5 separate regions of the Homo sapiens genome follow, and regions 2, 3, 4 and 5 are each linked to region 1. The links are contacts of gene promoters, found by promoter capture Hi-C in blood cells and fetal thymus (Javierre and others, 2016). All regions are on one chromosome and are shown on one strand. The core of a region is centred on a gene start or on the middle of the fragment in contact, and the rest is flanking DNA. Distances in the headings are between cores, read along the strand shown. Region 1 holds the start of APEX2 (apurinic/apyrimidinic endodeoxyribonuclease 2). Region 2 overlaps PHF8 (PHD finger protein 8). Region 3 holds the start of PHF8 (PHD finger protein 8). Region 4 has its middle 2.8 kb from the start of RRAGB. Region 5 holds the start of TSR2 (TSR2 ribosome maturation factor).

The links. Contacts are between HindIII fragments. The CHiCAGO score rates a contact against its expected background, and 5 or more counts as called.
Region 2: a contact is called between a fragment that was not itself captured here and the fragment with the promoter of APEX2 in region 1, in 1 of 17 cell types (naive CD8 T cells). The highest score is 5.2, in naive CD8 T cells.
Region 3: a contact is called between a fragment that was not itself captured here and the fragment with the promoter of APEX2 in region 1, in 12 of 17 cell types (fetal thymus, total B cells, naive CD8 T cells and 9 more). The highest score is 15.1, in fetal thymus.
Region 4: a contact is called between a fragment that was not itself captured here and the fragment with the promoter of APEX2 in region 1, in 4 of 17 cell types (M2 macrophages, activated CD4 T cells, monocytes and 1 more). The highest score is 7.5, in M2 macrophages.
Region 5: a contact is called between the fragment with the promoter of TSR2 here and the fragment with the promoter of APEX2 in region 1, in 2 of 17 cell types (total B cells and monocytes). The highest score is 6.0, in total B cells.

Annotation. Positions count from the first base shown.
Region 1 is chrX:54,998,991-55,001,735 of GRCh38, reverse strand. APEX2 (apurinic/apyrimidinic endodeoxyribonuclease 2) reads right to left here and starts at 1,373. Exons shown (of 6, transcript NM_014481.4): 1 at 1,157-1,373; 2 at 107-190. The coding sequence starts at 1,313. RefSeq lists a silencer at 1,353-1,492. The HindIII fragment of the contact is 4,396 bases long and covers 658-2,745 here.
Region 2 is chrX:54,026,992-54,029,736 of GRCh38, reverse strand. All of the region lies in intron 2 of PHF8 (PHD finger protein 8), which reads left to right. Among named protein-coding and RNA genes, the nearest start is that of PHF8, 16 kb to the left of the region's middle. The HindIII fragment of the contact is 2,182 bases long and covers 221-2,402 here.
Region 3 is chrX:54,043,312-54,046,056 of GRCh38, reverse strand. PHF8 (PHD finger protein 8) reads left to right here and starts at 1,584. Exons shown (of 22, transcript NM_015107.3): 1 at 1,584-2,295. RefSeq lists enhancers at 993-1,452, 1,663-1,912 and a silencer at 1,473-1,642. The HindIII fragment of the contact is 3,125 bases long and covers 1-2,745 here.
Region 4 is chrX:55,713,551-55,716,295 of GRCh38, reverse strand. No RefSeq gene overlaps it. Among named protein-coding and RNA genes, the nearest start is that of RRAGB, 2.8 kb to the left of the region's middle. The HindIII fragment of the contact is 1,189 bases long and covers 833-2,021 here.
Region 5 is chrX:54,438,978-54,441,722 of GRCh38, reverse strand. It overlaps TSR2 (TSR2 ribosome maturation factor), which reads right to left and starts at 1,319. Exons shown (of 5, transcript NM_058163.3): 1 at 1,221-1,319; 2 at 943-1,033. The coding sequence starts at 1,301. RefSeq lists an enhancer at 1,552-1,601. The HindIII fragment of the contact is 25,574 bases long and covers 1-2,745 here.

The sequences.
Region 1 (2,745 bases), core at 124-2,623:
AACTAAATGTCTAAGATTTCTTATTACCCTCTCATCAAATATTGGAAACCCTTTTCCCCTATCTGCCTCCCTCACTAATTTAAAGTCCACAGAAAGCCCCATTTACCAGAATAGCCGCTACGGTTGCGGCTGAAGCTGAAATAGGAGTTATAACCCTCAACGATAGCCAGGGGCTCTGTCAGTGCATCCCCTGGAAAAAAAAAATGTAAGATTAAGTCAGAGGTAAAACTAGCATCCGAGAAACACAAAGGCCTGGAATTACAGTTGTAGGCTAATTCCTTGCACACATCAGAGCCAGAGTTGGGGGTGACGGGAATGAAATATCCATGATTAGAGGAGGACCTAGAAAGATGGGAAATGTCAGAGAGGAAATTGATATCAGAATTAGAAGGCTTGGTGGGGGGCGGTTAGAGACTATGAAGTGGAGGTGGAGAATTAGGTGGGAAGGGGAAAGAATCAGAGCTAAGCCTGGGGGTCTGAACGATAGGAGGAAGCTGGGGATGGGGATGGACATACGAGAGGATGGTGGGAATCTGAGCTAAGGGTGAGAGGTAAGAGAGAGGGAATTAGGGGATCTGAACTGGGGGTGGAGGGAAAAGGAATTAGGGGATTCTGAGGGGAGATAAGAGGGTGAAGAAATAAGAGGACATCTAAGCTTGGGGTGGGAAATGAGGTGGGAATTAGGGACTTTCCGCTGGGAGGAGAGATGGGAATAGATAAGGGGTACTGGGGTTCTGAGGTGGAAATGTGAAAAAGAGGAAATTAGACTGAGCTGGGGTCAAAGATGGGGTGGGAATTAGAGGATCTGAGCTTGGGGCAGGGATGAAGAATTCGGGGGTTTGACTTGGCGGCGGGGAGATGGACAGCGTATGGAAGGAGGAAATTCAGGGGACTGAGTTTGGGGCCGGAGAATGAGTGGGAATCTGACTAGATATGGGGTTTCGAGAAGGAGCTAAAGTTTGCTGAAGACAGGAGATGGAGTGCAATTAGGGGATCTAGCTAGGGTGGGAAATGGAAGTTTAAGAGGGAAGGGACCTGGGTCTAAGGACAGGACTCTAAGAATAGGAAACTGGGAAAGTAAAATTACATGGGACAGGGGACAAAAGTTAGCGGGAAAGAAAAAGTATGTAGGGATCCTGGAATCCAGAGCGCTCACTGGTCACTTTGGTTTCCTGGAGACAGACGATATCCGCATCCAGCTCGTCCAAAATGCGCCCCACGGCCACGGCGGCACAGTTGCTGGGTTCCTGATTTGCCACCCCTTGCAGGGGTCTCCGAATCCCATTGATGTTCCAGCTCACCACGCGCAACATCTTAAAGGGCTGGAACACCTCCCAGCCCGCGCCAACCTAGGCGCGAGCGAACTGCTTCCTGTTCAGAAGTTGGCCAGGCCCGCCTCCCGCGCGCGTTTGCGCAGGCGTTCTCGTGCGTACCACTAAAGCGCCTGACGCACGTCGGGCGGGGGCTTCAACTTCCTCAGCTCTCATTGGCGGGAGGAGGAACTGGGTGGACGCTGAAGGAAGCAAAGCGGAAGCCTAGGGGCAATGAATGGCGAGAGGAGTTTCCAGTTGGGCTCCCGCTCCTTCCGCTCGGACAGCTGAGTCTCAATGCGTTTTTCCTCTACTCAGAAGTCCAAGTGGTGCGTCCGGTTACTTACAAACGGCATTTTGCCACTTTTTAAGCGACGGAACCCTGAGCGGAACTGCTCAGCTGCCAAAGCCCCGCCCTCAGTGCGGCGGACCGCCCACCTAAGTTCACAGATGGCTGCAGCGCTTGCGCCCCAGGAATAGCTGGCGCTAAGTGCTCGCGTTGGACTGGGCAAAGGGAAGTTCATGGTTGGAGGAGGGAGCAGTAAGAGTCGCTCCACTGAGATAAGACTTAGGAGGAGGGCCTTTGGCTTTATTGGGGCAGAGGGGAGGAGGAGGAGGCTGTCTCAAGCCTGCCCTGTAGCTTTTGTCTTGGCTCTTAACATTCTGAAGGATGTAGCCGGACACATCCTTACTCTTGGTTCTGTTTCTCAGATAAGTGAAATCGAAGCCCAGGAAATGTAAGCTCGTGAGCAGCATTGTCTCCGGATGCATCCATGGCTCTTCTGTATATGTTATCTCATTTCATTCTCAAGACAACCCAGTTCGGGACATGGAGGCTAAGTTAGAGACGTCGAATGAATTCATTTCATTCTCACAGTTCACTCTCTCTTACACTGAAGTAGTAGAGCCAGGATTCACACCCTGTCTTAATTAGCTCAATAATTACTTTTCTGAGTGTTTTTACTGACCACACACCTCCCCAGTTAAGTCTTTTCCTCTGGGGCCCCACGGCACCCTATGGTCCATTCTGTCACAGTACTTATAATACACAGCTATCATTGACTTCTATTTCTGCTGCCATTAGAATGCCAGCAACTTGAGAGCAATGACCATGTCTGGTTCATCTTGTTAGCCCCATCCCCTAATACTGGACACAGCATATGTTGGGAAGCAATAGATATTTGTCAGGTGAATGAATGAACAAAGGATAATAGCAAGAGCATCGACAGGTTCATGGCTTGTTTTTGAGAGCACAAAAATTAGAAGTAATGGATATGCCCAATGTCCAGGGAAAAGCATAACGATGCATCTTTAGGTTCCTCACCCAGAATTGCAGCATAATTATTTGTTCCCCAGAATTTAAGTCTTAGAGCCATCATCCTCAATGGTTACAGCAAAGACGCAGTAAACTGCTTTTCCTCCTGGAGGACTTAAA
Region 2 (2,745 bases), core at 62-2,561, 970 kb after region 1:
GCTAGCTGCCTGGGGCACTGGGCCCAGGTGCAGGTGTGGACAGAGTCGGTTGGGTTCATGTACCCTGTGTACTAAGTCACCGGGCAGGGCCCCAGGGTACTTGTGTGGGCCTGCACTCGCCCCTTGAGTTATCCCTATACCCAAGGGAGCGTGACAGTAAATAGCATATTAAAACTGCATGGTAAGTTGAGAGAGAGACCATGGAAGAAAGGAAAAAGCTTTTCTATTTTTTGAACAGGGAGCTCCCACTTTTCATTTCCATTAGGCCCCACAGATTGTAAGTGGGCTATGCAGTAGGAATGTCTCCCCCAGCATACGCTGTGTGTGAGGGGAAAGACGTGAGCTCAGCCAGAGAGGCAAGGCCTTTTGGGCCATGGTAAGTTTATACTTTACCTTAGGAAAAATAGGGACCCTGTGAGGCATTTTAAGCATGGGTTGATAGGATCAAATTTGTGTTTTTAAATGATCACTTTGGCTGTAGTGTGGAGGGCCGATTGGGTAGGGACAGAATAGGGGCCAGGAGTCCAGTTAGGAGGGCAGGACAATAACTGAGTTAGAGATAATAGTGGCCTGAACTAGCGCAGGGGCAGTAAGGATGACAAATTAACACAATTGATAGCTAATAAAGAGAGTTGATAGGACATGCTGATAACTTGGATAATAACAACAAACATACACAGCACTTACTATGGGCCAGACACTGTTCTAAACACTTTCTATATATTTAGTTCATTTGCTTTTGATAACAACCTTGTGAAGTAGGTACAGTTTTTATCCCCATCTTACAATGAGGAAACTGAGGCACAGAGAGGTTAAGTAACTTGTCCAAGATCCCACAGCTAGTAAGTGGCACAGCCAGGATGCAAACCCAGAGAATCTGGACCTAAAGTCAGTGTTCTTAACTTGATGCTAGAACGTCTACTTCAGGGTATAGTGGAGGGAGAGGGCTAGAGGTGAATCAGTGATGGCTGCCAGGTTTCTGGCTTGAATGCCTGGTGAGGTTATGGAGCCATTTGCAGAAGTGGGAAACCTAAGAGAAGGGAGCATGTTTAGGTGACAGACAGAAGGAGAAACTGAGTTTGGACATGTTGAATTTGAAGTACGTAAGTGGCTATCCAGTAGAAATGTCTCACCCAGGAGACATTTGGAGGGAAGGGTCTAATCTGGCTTGGAGTTATGAGTGCATAGAGGGCACATGGAGCCCTGGGAGTGAGAACAGTGAGGAAAAGTGAGGAGAAAAGAGTGCCCAGGTAAGAGGACCTAAGAAACTTCAACATTTAAGGACTGGGCAGGAGAAAAAGAGTTCATCGGGAAAAAGGAACAGCCAAAGACATGATTAAAATCACATCACATCCCTACTCATAGTGGCTGTTACTCCCCAGTTCTTGTGGCTACCCAGGAAAAGCCAGAGTGCTTTACAGTGGCCTACAACACCCTACTACATGAGTCTATTGCCTTTCTGACTTATTACTGTCCTCCTACCTCTCTACTCTAGAACACTCTCCTCCTCTCTGCTACCTTCGGAGTCTAGGGATGCTCCCACCACAGGGCTTTTGTACTTGCTGTTCTTATTGGGATGCTCTTCCTTCATAGCCACATGAGGGGCTTGCTCCCTTACTCCCTTTGGGTCTTTATTCAAAAGCCATTTTGTCAGTCTTTCCCTGTCTTCCCTATCTAATATTTCACCCTCACTACCATTCTTCCTGGCCCCCCCATTGTGTGTGTGTGTGTGTGTGTGTGTGTGTGTGTGTGGTGTGTATAGTTATATATTCACACATACATATTCCTCTATATCCCCCTTCCTGTTTTTTTTTCTACCTAGGTCTTCTCACTATCCAGCATACAATGTGTTTCACCAATTGCATTGATTTATCTTGTTTCTTGTCTGCCTCCCCACTAGAACATCAGCTCTATGAGGGCAGGGATTTTTGTATGCTTTGTTTTTTGTCTTCGTCTCACCAGCACCTAGACCAGAGCCTGGCGGATGCTCATTAAATGTCAGCTGAAGGAATGGGCACCAGCCAGATGGGACGTTATAGAAGTCAAGGATAGAGAGCTTGTCAGGTGGAGAGTGTACAGGGTTGGCAGGGCGAAAATGGTGCTAAGAGGTTAAGGGAGATAAAGCAGAGAAGTACTTATTGCATATATCAACAAGGAGGTCAGGAAACCAGTGAGATCTATTTTAAAGAAGGTGGGGACTAAGATCAGACTAGCAGGAGATGAATCACAAAGTGCATATAGCAACCCTAAAAAAGTATCGATTTGGCTCTGATAGAACACCTCTGGATACTACTAGGCAGCTAAGGGTGGGAGGGAGACTTTTTACTGTATATACTTCTGTACTCTGAGTTTTGCACCATGTACAGCTGTTACTTATTCAAAAGAGGAGTCATTATCAAGCTTCGTAGGTTTATTTACTTCATTTTTAAGCTGCATAGGTTTAAAGAAAGAATGTGTTTGGCTGTGAAGGGGCGGACAGAAGGGAGGGAGGATGGGAGGGCGGGTAGGTCTTGGTTTTTTAATTTGTAAACATCAATAGACTTGTTTAAATGCTATTGTGAAGAGAAAGAGAGAGATTGAAGATACTGCAGAAAGAAGGAATAATTGATTGAGAAGGTAAGAAAACATGTGACCCAGGTGGAAAACTTGGCTTTAGAAGGAAGGAAAGATAGTACTTTTGTTGTGATAGGAAAAAAAGGATGGGTGTAGAAGGAGGTAGATTGGTGATGAGAAGTTAAGGTAGTT
Region 3 (2,745 bases), core at 118-2,617, 960 kb after region 1:
GGACCGCTTGAGTCCAGGAGTTCTAGGGTGCAGTGAGCTATGACCGCCCAGCCTGAGTTGACAGAGTGAGACCTTGTCTCTAAAACAACAAACATAAAAAAAAAAAAAAACCCTAAACCATCCTCTGGGTAAGTCACAAATATGAGACTAAGCTACCCCTGCTCAAAAACCTGTGTTTTCTTTTTGCTAACTGCATACAATCTAAACTCTTTTGCATTTCGCAATCTTTCATGTTGTGACCCTTTACTGTTTGACCTCCTACCTATCTCTCTTCTGTTTTCCTTGTTCCAACAATATTCAACTTCTAGTAAATATTTTTCTATGTGCCTCCATGCATTTGTACACGTTGATCCTTTTGAGTACAATGTTCTCGCTTGTTTATTTAAGTGAACTTAATCGTCCATGTCCCCCTGCCGTCTTTCTTACAGCAGCTGCAAGCAGCTTGTAAGGCTCTTTTGTAGCTTCATGTTGCATTTTGCAAAGGTCATTTTGCAGGTGGTATTTGTGTGCTTACTGTGCCTTCTATTCCAATTGTTTACTCGCAACTTTGTTTCCTGCACTGGCAGATGCCCTCCCACTCCAGAGGCCCTGTTTTCACCATTGCATCCCCAGGGCCTACCCCACCATCACTGGTTAGTAAATTGTGTGCACGCACACATTTCCTTTTTAAAGCAATGGGACCCTTTAAGAAAATGAAATAGTAAGATAACTCCTAGAGAATTTTCTAGAATGTTTGAGAAAACCTAGGCCATCTTGAAGCATATGTACGAAGCTCCACTAACTCAGCAAAGCTCCACTAACTCAGCCTTTCCTCTCATCCCCCCTCCTCTCCCCTCCCCTCAGGCTATAGTCAGAAAATTGTGGGACAGGTGCAAACAAATCCTTGAACTGTATTTGAACTGAAGTGAAACAGTAGGGTCAAAGAAGAGTTCAGAGGGAGTTGTGGAGTTGGCAGCAGCTTTACAGAGGAACTACACTGAGGGCCTGGGGACAGAACGCGGGTAGCACAGGGCACAAGGTTCAACGTCCCTGCTCCGGGACTCAAGTCACTTGGCTTCTCGAAGCCCCTGCCTTCATTTGGTGATAATCACAGAGCTTCCTTCACAGGGGGAAGAACCAACAACGCAGAGACCGTGGGAAAGAGCCCAGCCTATCGAAGGTGCTCAATGAACAGGAGCCGCGGTGAGTACTCCGCCTCTACCCCGGCTGAAGCCCGCCCCCGCCGCCACCTATTAATTTTGTAGTTTGGAGTCACCGAGTTCACCTCCTCTCATAGGAGGAGAAGGCTGGGGAGGAGGAGTGTGCGAGTCGGGGTAGCTGAACTCCCTGTTTGCCCGGAGGAGGGGGAAGGCTAGGAAGTTTCGGGCCCCACTCAAAATGGAGCCAAACGTCTGCCTCGCCTAAGATGGCGGCTTCTCCGCCTCTGGGCTCAAGGTCTTCAGCGGCGATTGGGCACCTTAAAGAGACGAGCGGGTCCAAAGGTGGCTGAGAACCGCCCTCCTTTCTCAAGGTGGCGCCCCGCCCCCCCGATGACGTCACCCGGGAGCCGGCGGCTCGCGGTTCCCCGCCTCCGCCGCGCTCACCTCGCGAGTCCAGCCCTCATAAGATGGCGGTCGCCTTGGTTGTCTGGGTAGCGCCGCCACTCTCAACATGGTAGCTGTTTATCCCGTATTTCTCCTCCCCTCTCCGCCTCAACTTCCTCATTGTTTTGAATAAACTTTATTGACTACTCCGAATTGCCTACCACCGCCACTGGGCTTCTCCCAGCGACTTTTCGGGCCGTGTGCCTCGGACGTGGCGGCCGGTTCATCTCTTTCCCCGTTGGTTTGCTCGCGAGTATCTCCTGCCGGCCCAGCGACGACGCCACTTGCCCGTTCGCCGGGCGGCCGCCAGACTAGGCCCAAGCCGCGGTCTCCAGTAGGCCCGAACGGCCGGGCCGAGGGGAATGTTGTGGAGGAGGCTGCTCTGAAGCACCGTTGAGCGGCTGGCGCCGCGCGACCCAGCGGGGGGCTCGAGGGGAAGGCGAGCGAGGTTCCCGGCGGTACGGGGACTATCCCAGAATTCGACGCGCGTCGCCGTAGGGGCCGGAACTACCGGACGAGCCTCCGCTGAGGCGCTTCGCAGTCCCGGAGCTAGCCCGGCTGCCGGCGTGTCGCTGGGGCTGAGCTCCGCGGGCGTGGAGTCCTTGCAGCCCAAAGCATGAGGAGGTCCCTGTAGGATTCTGGACTGAAGACGTTCTTGTCAGGTTTGGGGCGTGAGGAGGTTCCTGTCAGTTGGGGAAGCGTTAAGATTCCTGTAAGTTTTGGGGGCTGCGAGGCTATTACTGTCAGTTTTAGGATATACTGTGAGGTACCTGAACATTTGGGGAGACTAGGGAGCTCTCATCAGTTTGAGGGGGGGCTGCAAGGAAACGCTGCCAGTTTCCGAGCGATGCAAAAGAATCCTTGCTTAGTTTCGGGAGTGTGAGGAAATTCTAGTCAGTTTGAGGGGTTTTGAATAGATCCTTTTGAGTTTCAGGGATGCAGCCAGAACCCTGTCATCTTTAAAGTACAGAACGAGCTGGTCAGTTTAGAGATTTATATTTATTTCAGTTTTGGGGGTGATGAGACTCCTGACTGGTCGGGGAAGGAATGATATTGAGAGTGATGGAAAGGATTATTTAAACTCTCCGAACACGACCCCAGAACTGTGATTTGAGTTGGGCGCCTAGTCTTGTCTGTCTTGTTCGTGAAGGCTTTGAGTAAC
Region 4 (2,745 bases), core at 178-2,677, 710 kb before region 1:
CCCAGGAATAACATCACTGTTTTAAAACCTAAGATCACTGTTTGATATGTTTTGCAGACCCTGCATTCAGATGCACCAGCTTATGATACAGGAGCGGGGCAGGAAAGTGCTGGGCAGAGAAAGGCGGGTCCGTGGCTAGGGCTCCACCCTGGGGCCTGTGCCCATGGACCTAGGTGAGGATAGGCACTCCTGCCTTCCCACCCAAATGTTATATTCACCCCTAGAGGTTGCCATGGGGTCGGAGCCCCACAGCCTGCCCCTCTGCATGCTCCCCCTAGAGGTTGTGAAGCAGTGAGCCACTCCCGCTGTGGCATGCCCTGCAAGGGGGATAGGGGAACTTCCCTCGTTTCACTTACAGCACCCAGACCAGTAATCTGGCCCAGCCAGTTCTGCGATCCCACCCAGGAACAGAAGATAGCAAGAAAAACTCACTTAGAGCCCCCTATGATTCCATATCCAACTTGACCAGTCAACACTCCCCACTTCCCAAGCCCCTACCCACCAAATTATTGTTAAAAATTTCAATCCCCCGAAACTGATTTGAGTAATAAAACTGCAGTCTCACCCACAGCTGGCTCTGCATGAATTACTCTTTCTCCATTGCAATTCCCCTGTCTTGATAAATCAGCTCTGTCTAGGCAGCAGGCAAGGTGAACCCGTTGGGCAGTTACACTGTCTGCTCCCACACTTTCCACTTGAGGTCCTGTGTGATTCCTTTTCTCCACAACTGCCTTGCCTCAAGAAAAAAGTTATTCTACTCTGATTAGTGATCCTTCGCTCTATCACTAGCTAATCTTTTGTCTCCTTCCAACCAACTACCCCCAAACAAGCTTCCATTCTGGCTTTCCTTGTCTGATGAAAGATCCTGAGTCCCAAACCAGGAAGTCACCTTAGATTCACTGCCCTCCATACGTGTCAATGAGACCAGGTCATGATCAGTCTATTTTCTACTACCTGCCTGCTCTTATTCTTACTGCCACTCTTTTTGTTCCAGCTATCATAATCTCTGGCCTAGATATCCACAATAGCCTACTAAGTGATTTTCCCACAGTGGCAGCTCCAAAGGGGTTGGGAGTGAGTGAGTTGATCTTCATTAGTCATCTCATCCCCCAAAACATTTGACGTAATTAATATGTGCTTGCTTTCTAAAGGCAGCTTTCAAATATGTCTTCCAACACCTACTGCCCCCGGGCTTCACCAGCCAAATTGGCCCCTTAAACCACTCTTTTATAAAAATGTACTGTCTCGGCCAGGTGCAGTGGCTTACACCTGTAATCCCAGCACTTTGGGAGGCCAAAGTGGGCGAATCACCTGAGGTCAGGAGTTCGATACCAGCCTGGCCAACATAGTGAAACCTCATCTGTACTAAAACTACAAAAATTAGCCAGGTGTGGTGGCACGCGCCTATAATCCCAGCTACTCGGGAGGCTGAGGCAGGAGAATTGCTTGAACTCAGGAGGCGGAGGTTGCAGTGAGCCAAGATCGCACCACTGCACTCCAACCTGGGCGACAAAGCAAGCAAAAAAAAAATACTGTCTCCCTGTTGCTGCTGGTATCCTTTTCCCCCTCCTTCAAACCATCCATCCTCTCTAAAAGCTGCTCAAGTGATCCTTTATTTTAATTAATTAATTAACTAGTTTTTGTTGAGACTGGGTCTCACTTTGTTGCCAGACTCAAACTCCTGGCCTCAAGGGATCTGCCCACCTTGGCCTCCCAAGGTGCTGGGATTACAGGTGCGATCAAATTTCTTTTTATCGTCGTTGTAGTTGTTGTTGTTCTTGTTGTTTTTGAGACAGGGTTTTGCTCTCTGACCCAAGCTGGAGTACAGTGGCACAATCATGGCTCACTGCAACCTCAACTTGAGTAATCTTTTAAACCACAAATCGGAGGAGACTACTTCTCTACTTTAAAATCCTCCCATAACTTAAGGAAAAAGTGTGTCAATACAAGGACCTTCAAGATCTGGCCTATAGCAACTCACGAGCTATATTTCTCTACCCACATTCACTACCTCACAAGCTTCATAAGGAACTGCTGATAGTTGCCTCAAAGTGCCAAGAGGCAAGAAGTAAGAAGAGGAAGAAACAGATAAAGAAGGGGAGGGGAGGGATGAAGAAGAAAAGGGGGAGAAGTGGGGAGATGGGAAAGAGGGAAGGAATAGAGGGGTAAGGAGAAGAGGAAAAAGGAGGAAGAGGGGTAGAAGGAAGGGAATGGAAGAAAGGTAGTGGAAAAGGATTGAGAAACTAAATCAAATAAGCATAGATTCCAAATAATGGTGAATAGGGCCAATGTGCAGTGCATTCCTATTGTAAATCAAAAATAAAATACCAAGGTTCCTCAACCATTTGAATGTGCTTTCTCCTCGGCCAGGGCACTCTTTAAAAATGTATCCTGAGTGACTTTCTGGCCATGACAGGAAGTAGGGGTCAAACATGCCTCATTATATTTCTCCAGCTTTAACATCAACACAGACCTTTAAATCTGATAAGAAGCATTTACATTCTATTCTTTCTGAACCTGCAGGCTTCCTGCATGATTAAACTTTAGTCTCCACAACCTCTTATCTTAACCCAAACATTCCTTTCTATTGATCCTAGGTCTTTAAACTCAACCAATTGTCAACCAGAAATTTTTTCAATCTACCTATAAGCTGGAAGCCCCCCTCCCACCCCCACTCCGAGTTGTCCCACCTTTCTGGGCCAAACCCATATATTTCTTACATGTATTTGACTGAAGTCCCTTGTC
Region 5 (2,745 bases), core at 70-2,569, 560 kb after region 1:
ATACTCCAATACTGAGCTCCCTGCTACTTTCCAAATATAACACATTATACCCTCATGCCACAGAACTTGAGTGTTGCTCTCTCTGCTTCCCCCACCTAGTTAACTCCTTCTCACTAAGACCCAGCCCAATTCACCACCTCCACTAAGAAGCTGTCTCCCCATCCTGTTACCCCATGCACCCTGAGCTCCTCTTTATCAGAAAATCTATCAATGTTGTAACTATTTACGTGTGTGGATCCTCAATGGATAGTATACTTTCTTGAGAGAGATGACTCTGCCTAATGTCATCTCCAAAGCTAGAAATTGAATGAAGATTTTTTTAAAAACCATACTATGCAACAGGCCCTCTACTGGGCCTCTTGTTCTTGTATATCCCTCAAGACGAGCCTACAGTGTAGATCTTTGCTGTCCAAACAGCCACAGGTGGTTACTGAGCACTTGAAATATGGCTAGGCCAAATCGAAATGTGCTAAAACTGTAAAATACCAGATTTTGAAAACTTAATACTAAAAAATGTAAAATATCTCAATGTTTTATACTGACTACATGTTGAAATATTTCATACACACCGAGTTTACTAACATTGATTTCATCTGCTTTTTGCTTTATTAAAGTGGCTACTAAAAAATTTTAAATTATATGTGACTAGCATAATATTTCTACTGTACAGCGCTCTGGTGGATACTTTTATACGCATTTTAGAAACTAGGAAACTGAGTCTCAGGGAGGTAAACTGCCTTGTCCAGAGTAATCCCACGAGTCAGTGGTACAGCCCGTAAAGCACTGGAATCCAGGATTCTGATTCTAAAAGCTGAATTCATTCCACCTCACCTTTAGGTACCAATCCACAACTGCTCGAGAGGAAATGCAGGCTCTGCGGGATGGGGCTCCTCCTCTCCACACCCCCACACAGGCGGGTCGCGGCGCCTCACATTCACTCACCATTGCGCATGAAGTAATCCTCCACTGCACCCCCCAGCCACTTGGCCTTCTCCTGGCTGTGCACACCCCCGAAGCCATTCTCCACAGCGATCTGTAAACACAGGTCCAAGCCCACCAAGTCAGCTTGGGAGCAGACCTGGAGTAGCCTGGAGGCCGCTTACGCCGCCCAGCCAACTCCTCTTATGCCGCCTAGCCAAGCCTCAGGCACCTAGCCCAACCAACTCCTGTTCTGCCCCGGGCCCTAACCTTGACCTTGCCCTGGCCCTGGCCCCACTGACCTGCAAGGCCGGCCAGGCCTCCAGGGCCGCGCAGACCCCAGCCCGGAAAAGAGCTCGCGCATCTTCTGCAGCGCCCGCCATTATCCGGCCCCAGTCCACGTGACGTCCCGGCGGCCCAATCCCTCTGTAGCTCGGCCCAGGCAGAACGAGACGCAAGCCGAGCCTGAGAACACAGGATTCTCTTTTCCGCAGACCTGGCAGCAAGACTAGAGCAAAAGAAAAATCTGTCAGAGCGATCGATGACACCACCAGAGTTACTCACTTAAATCAAAGGACACCAGACCTGAAGGACGTGTGGGGCCATGGTTTCCGGATCCGTGGGTACTGCGGAGGAAATATGTGGGGAACTTATTACAGATACAGATTCCAGGCCCTGGGGCAGAGGACTCAGTGAGTATAGCCTTAAAAATCTGCATTTAAAAAAAGCATCCTAACATCTGTATAGAATACTGCAACCAACAACAGTAAAATACAATCAGCTCTCCCTATGGGGGGCAGTCCACGTCCGTGAATTCAACTAACCTCAGATGGAAAATATTCAGGAAAAAATTGCATCTGCATTGAACATGTGTATACTTTTTTTCTTGACATTATTCTCCTAAACAGTACAGTATAACAGCTATATACATAGCATTTACACTTTATTAGGCATTATAAGTAACCTGGAAATTATTTATTTATCTATTTTTTTGAGACCGAGTGTCACTCTGTGGCCCAGGCTGGAGTGCAGTGGCGCCATCTCGGCTGACTGCAACCTCCGTCTCCTGGTTTCAAGCAATTCTCGTGCCTCAGCCTCCCGAGTACCTGAGATTACAGGTGCCCACCACCACTCCCAGCTAATTTTTGTGTTTTTAGTAGAGACAGGGTTTCGCCATGTTGCCCAGGCTGGTCTCGAACTCCTGGGTTTAATCCACTTGCCTCAGCCTCCCAAATTGCTGGGATTATAGGCGTGAGTCACATCTGGAAATGATTTAAAGTATACAGTAGAATATTCATAGGTTATACGCAAATACTATGCCATTTTATATCAGGGACTTGAGCATCTATGAATTTTGGTATCCTCCGGAGGTCGTGGAACCAGTCTCCCACGGATACCCAGGGATAACTGTACATGTTTTTCTGAAGTACACAAGAACATTCTCCAGAACAGATCATACACTAGGCCATACAGTAGGCCTCCATAGATTTAACAGGATTGAACATACAAAGTATGTTGTCTGACCACAATGGAAAGAAGTTAAAAATCAGTAAAAAGAAACTTACAAAATTCACAAATATATGGAAATTAACACACTCCTAAGCAATAAATGGGTCAAAGAAAAAAATCACAAAGCAAATTAGAAAACACTTTTAAATGAATGAAAACAAAAACATAAAAAAATGCATGAGATGCAGCTAAAGCAAAACTTAGAGGGAAATCTTTAGCTGTAAACATGCATATCTAAAAAGAAGAGCCGGACATGGTGGCTCATGCCTGTAATCATAGCACTTTGGGAGGTTGATGCGGGAGGATGGCTTGAGCTCA